Linked DNA regions of Homo sapiens: region 1 is linked to region 2. Evidence: promoter capture Hi-C in 16 types of primary human blood cells and fetal thymus (Javierre and others, 2016). All regions are on one chromosome and are shown on one strand. Each heading gives the region's core, a stretch centred on a gene start or on the middle of the fragment in contact. The rest is flanking DNA. Distances are from core to core; before and after follow the strand shown. Region 1 has its middle 15 kb from the start of KRTAP9-2. Region 2 holds the start of KRT31 (keratin 31).

The links. Contacts are between HindIII fragments. The CHiCAGO score rates a contact against its expected background, and 5 or more counts as called.
Region 1: a contact is called between a fragment that was not itself captured here and the fragment with the promoter of KRT31 in region 2, in 1 of 17 cell types (total CD8 T cells). The highest score is 5.7, in total CD8 T cells.

What each region holds. Positions count from the first base shown.
Region 1 is chr17:41,210,509-41,213,511 of GRCh38, reverse strand. It overlaps the pseudogene KRTAP9-12P. Among named protein-coding and RNA genes, the nearest start is that of KRTAP9-2, 15 kb to the left of the region's middle. The HindIII fragment of the contact is 303 bases long and covers 1,359-1,661 here.
Region 2 is chr17:41,396,255-41,399,258 of GRCh38, reverse strand. It overlaps KRT31 (keratin 31), which reads left to right and starts at 1,651. Exons shown (of 7, transcript NM_002277.3): 1 at 1,651-2,067; 2 at 2,264-2,346; 3 at 2,683-2,839. The coding sequence starts at 1,720. The HindIII fragment of the contact is 10,261 bases long and covers 1-3,004 here.

The DNA.
Region 1 (3,003 bases), core at 261-2,760, 190 kb after region 2:
CTGGGCATGATGGCGTATGCCTGTAATCTCAGCTACTCGGGAGGCTGAGGCAGGGGAATGGCTGGAACCCAGGAGGTGGAGGTTGCGGTGAGCTAAGATCATGCCATTGCACTCCAGCCTGGGCAACAAGAGCGAAACTGGGTCTCAAAAAAAAAAAAAAAAAAAAAAAGAATAAATGGATACCTGGCTGGTCTGATGATGGAAGTTTATTCTATGCAGGTAGTAATCTGTGGTAAGTTGATCAATAACTGCAAGGCTGGCAGCCCCTAGACACACAACAGGCTGATTGGCAGCAGGGCTAGCAGCAGCTGGATCCATAGCTCTGGTTTAGGCAACCTGTCAGGCAGACACACATGGGGTGGTAGCAAGTTCTCCTGTAGTAGATGGGTGCACAGAAGCTGGGCTGGCAGCAGCTGGACCCACTGCCAGTTTGGCCGTAACAGCTGGACCCACAGCAGGTGGGCTGGCAGCAGGGTGTGCTGCAGCAGGAAGACTGGCAGCAGCTTGTCACACAGGTGTACTGGCAGCAAGTGGTCCTGCAGCAGGTGGCCTCACAGTAGGCTGGGCAGCAGGCAGCAGGGCTGGCAGCAGCTGGATCCACATATCTGGTCTAGGCAACTAGGCAGGCAGACACACATGGAATGGTAGCACGTTCTCTGGTAGACGGGTGCACAGCAGCTAGGTTGGCAGCAGGATGTGTTGCAGCAACTGGGGGGGTGGCAACAAGACTGGCAGCAGCTGGACACACAGCAGGTGGTCCTGCAGCACGTCGTAGGCTGGCAGCAAGGGGAGCAGCAGTGGGTCATGGCGTCAGGGGTGGAGGGTGCACTCCTGTTCAGAGGTGAGTTTCCTAGAGTTTGATAACGTTATTCAATCTGAACCTTTTATACATGGTACCCCAAAGTTTTGATTAATGAGCAGAACTTGTCTTTGATACTTCTCTAGTCTTTTGGGAAATGTCCCAAGGAGGAAGTTGTCTATTCAGTGCTGTGAATTTTCTTTGAGTAATTGATTTATTTGCTTTCTTAATTGACAAATAACCAGTCAGGACTATTTTCCTGAACTGAGAAATGAATCATTCTCCCTACCAATTAAGCACTGATCCTCATTTTTAAAGCTGAGTACAGTATTTGGTCATCTAACAGGTCCTATGTAGCTTAGTGAGATGTCAGGACAATTGTTAGTCACCATCTGTTTTTCCTTATTGCTATTTACTTTGGAAAGTACCTCTGAAGATAGGATGATGTTGAGTCATGGTGATGAGTTAAAAACCAAGTTTAGGGAGGGCTTGTGATGCCACCTGTAATGTAGAAGCTAGTATAAGATTTATCCTCCTGCTATAAACAATAATAAAAGCTTTGTAAATATATAAAACAACTGTTTGCAGATATTGGATGACAATCAGCTTTGGGTTATGATCCTTGAAGGAAGACACATGGGGTAAAAAAAGAAACACATGGGTTTGTATGTTTTCAAAATTGCTGCTGCAGCACATCCTGCTGCCAGTCCACCTGCTGCAGCAGCTGCAGCTGTTATGGCCAAATGCCAGAAGAAATAGAGTCCACATAGAGAGCAGAGGAGAGATAGGCGTTAAAGGGGTTTATCACAATTCCTTCTCTCAGTCTGAAATGTGATTTTTGATGGTTAAGTTTTCTAAAGCTTTATCCAGTTAAAATTATCAGTCATTTCTTTTCGAATAATAATATTTTTGTCTTGGTCAGGAGGTATTTATCTACCTAAAAATAAAAAAAATCACATAAATCATCTAGTGAGGATTTAAGATTTTTTTTGACCTTCAAGATATTGATACACCTGGAATTGATTTTTTTCCTACATGATGAGTGATCAGAATCCAAGTTCATCTTTTCCATGTAAATACTTTTCCATGTAAATACTGGAAACAGGTTTGATTATGATTCCTTTGATTATGGAACATTTTCAGCTTTATTGCTGGATATGTTCTCATTTTCATCCAGAATATTATTTATTTGTGTCTTCTTTACATTTCTTGATCAATCTTTTCAATGGCTTATCATTTATTGGTATTTTTTTTGAAAAAGAAATTTTGGCTTTGTTCATCTTCTCTGTGATGTCGTTTTTAACTAGTTCATTGATTTACATTTTATGCTATTTTGGTTGTTTTCCTTTTTCTTATTCACTTAGGTGAACACTTAGTTCATTTATTTTTAGGTTTTATTCTTGTTTAATATTTAAATATTAAAGGCTATTTAAAGTGTGTACATTTTATCAAAGATCATTTTATAACACCCCACAAGTCTTGATATGTAATATTTTCATTATAATTGAGTTACACATTTTTTCCTTAACATTAGAGATTCTTCCATTTTGGTCTTCCAAGTCAGTATATCTTCTGCAGCTTATCTCACTTATTGTGTACTTTAATGACTATATGCTCTATTATTAATTTAGTATCAGATATTATGCCTGCTTGTGTCTCCTACCCCATTATACATGTTTGTTTTTATTAATTTTTCATTTTGAAATAATTTCATACTCATAGAAAATTGTAAACACAGTACAAAGGATTCCCATATGCCTTCACTTGGATTCCTCAAATGTTAACATTTTACCATGCTTCTTTAACATTATTTCTATACATATATGTGTTACTACTGTTGGTTTTTAAAAGTAAGTTGCAGATAGAATTTCCCTTTATCACTAAATACCACTTTATCCCTATGTACTTCAGTGTGTGTTTCTTGTCACAGCCCAATGATCAAAACCAAAATGTTAATGCCGTTGCAGGATAGTCTCTGGTTGGTTCTTATTCATGTTGTGTGTGTGTGTGTTTTTGTATTTGTCTATATTGGTAATAGCTTCCTTTATGTCTTTAAATGCATTTATTATGTTTAGTTAAAACCCAGTTGAAGATTTGCTGACTGGGAAGATGGAGTGGACAGACTTTTCCATATTCTTTCTGCTAAGTACAACTAAAAATTCTGGATATTATATATAAAGCAAACACGAGAGGACTCTGAAAGG
Region 2 (3,004 bases), core at 402-2,901:
TTGAAAGTTTAACTGGAAATTTAAAAGGGGCTTTTTAAAAACATTAAAGCTGGCTGGGCGCGGTGGCTCACGCCTGTAATCCCAGCACTTTGGGAGGCTGAGGCGGGTGGATCACGAGGTCAGGAGATTGAGACCATCCTTGCTAACACGGTGAAACTCCATCTCTACTAAAAATACAAAAAATTAGCCGGGCGTGGTGGTGGGCACCTGTAGTCCTAGCTACTCAGGAGGCTGAGGCAGGAGAATGGCATGAATCTGGGAGGCGGAGCTTGCAGTGAGCCGAGATCGCTCCACTGCACTCCAGCCTGGGTGACAGAGCAAGACTCCATCTGAAAAAAAAAAAAAAATATATATATATATATATATATAAAGATTAAAGCCAACATGGATATATTATGGAATATAGGGTCAATTCATATGAAGTTTAAAGATCAACTACAAGTGATTTCAGGCCGTGGAGGCCCCTTTGGGCTATCTCCTGACTTTCCTAACATATCCATCTACTCTGTTCGGATACTATGGATAACCTTAGGAAATGTTTGACAAAGACCTCCTTATTCCTTTCTCTCTGCCCCTGAATATCTTTCCTAGATTATTTAAATGCATTTTTTTTGTTTTGTTTTGTATTTTGAGATGGAGTCTTGCTCTGTCACCAGGCTGGAGTGCAGTGGCACCATCTCGGCTTACTGCAACCTTCACCTCCCAGGTTCAAGTGATTCTCCTGCCTCAGCTTCCCGAGTAGCTGGGACTACAGGTGGGTGCCACCATGCCCAGCTAATTTTTTTGTATTTTTAGTAGAGATGGGTTTCACTATGTTGGCCAGGATGGTCTCTATCTCTAGACCTCGTGATCCGCCGGCCTCGGCCTCCCAAAGTATTGAGATTACAGGCGTGAGCCATTGTGCCCAGCCTTAAATGTGTTTTTTATGGCTCTCTCGGTTTGCACTTTTCAGCCTCTTTCAAAACGATCTCTTACCCCAGAAACTTCTTGTTCTCCAACTAGTTATCAAAGCCTCTACCTTTAAAATTCTCTCCTCTACAATTTTCTTAAGTAATATGTGGTGGTGGGGGGGAAGTATTACACGGACCCGTAAAACACAAATCGCTGTCTAATCTTTTCAGTCGTGTCCTCCATTGATTCTAATCATCCACCTTAAGGCTTCCAAGGCACAGAATGCTCCATCATTTGAAGATTCTTCTCTAAATGCAGAGGGAAAGACAGTCCACTGTGGCCTCTTAATGCAACTTCTTCCTCAAATCAATCCGTGTTTCTCCCTAGAAACGGCAGGTGGACCAGGACATGAGTATGTTTATGGGCCTGCAGAATTATGTGACACAAAAGAATGTCATCGGATGGATCAACACCTCAATTAATGAGGGCAGATACTTGGGCTGGACTGTGTAGCCTCTTTGAAGGCCTACCACAGAACTCTGATTTCATGGGTGGACTGTCTGCGGAGGAGTCCTGACTTAGCAAGAAGCCCAAGTAAAGAATTTTATGGGAGAAGGGACTCTTCAGAGGAAGGCAAATAACAGACTGAAGGAAAGGGCGTTTGAAAAGAAGTGAAGAAATAAAAAGAAAAAAGACATTACATACTGTGTCCACACCCTCTGCAGTGGGATATAAATGCTCCCTAGAGGAAGGAGACCCACAGCTCTGTGGCTTGGAGAATTTAGACTCTGTCTTCAGCCAGGCACTCCCTCCCTCCCTCCCAGCACTATGCCCTACAACTTCTGCCTGCCCAGCCTGAGCTGCCGCACCAGCTGCTCCTCCCGGCCCTGCGTGCCCCCCAGCTGCCACAGCTGCACCCTGCCCGGGGCCTGCAACATCCCCGCCAATGTGAGCAACTGCAACTGGTTCTGCGAGGGCTCCTTCAATGGTAGCGAGAAGGAGACTATGCAGTTCCTGAACGACCGCCTGGCCAGCTACCTGGAGAAAGTGCGTCAGCTGGAGCGGGACAACGCGGAGCTGGAGAACCTCATCCGGGAGCGGTCTCAGCAGCAGGAGCCCTTGCTGTGCCCCAGTTACCAGTCCTATTTTAAGACCATTGAGGAGCTCCAGCAGAAGGTGAGCGGCATTGCTGTCATCTCCAAGCAAGAGAGTTTGCTGTGATTCTGTCTGTGATAGAGAAGTGTGTTTCTTGCTTCTGTGCTGTCATAATTCTTGCTTCCTCTTTTATTTCAAAATGGCTTAAGTCATTTTTAAAAAGTTGATGATTTCATATTTATTTTCAGTCCTCACTAAGCCACCTCTCACTCCCCAGATCCTGTGTACCAAGTCTGAGAATGCCAGGCTTGTGGTGCAGATCGACAACGCCAAGCTGGCTGCGGATGATTTCAGAACCAAGTGAGTTGTTCGGAATTTGCACTAGTGTCAATTGCTTCTGTTTAATCTTTAAAGAAAAGGGATTTCCATCTGAAAACAGATCTACCCACTTGTTGTGAAGGATTCTGCAGAGGACTGGGGAGAACCAAGCAAAGAAATGCAAAAATGGATGAGGACTCACATCAATCTGTTTGTTTTGGGATGAATATTGGGTATTGATGGAGCCTCCAGAAACCTCTGTCTCCTGGGCCTATTCATTACAGAAAGTGGAAAGATAAGGCACATGAGGTTATCAAAAATCATTCCTGTGAGTCTTGAAGATCTACCAGGTAGTACTCTGACCCTGTCCTTGCGCAGGTACCAGACCGAGCTGTCCCTGCGGCAGCTGGTGGAGTCGGACATCAACGGTCTGCGCAGGATCCTGGATGAGCTGACCCTGTGCAAGTCCGACCTGGAGGCCCAGGTGGAGTCCCTGAAGGAGGAGCTGCTCTGCCTCAAGAGCAACCATGAGCAGGTGAGACTAGAAATGAGAAATGCACAAACCTGTCTCAGCCTCTGGCTCAGGGTTGCTTTAGTGATTTGGGGCAGCAGAATGCAGAGTATGAGTACAAGACTGAGGGTTTCCTTTGAAAACATCACGGTAAGAGAAAAATTGGAGAGAGATAAGACCTGTTCATGT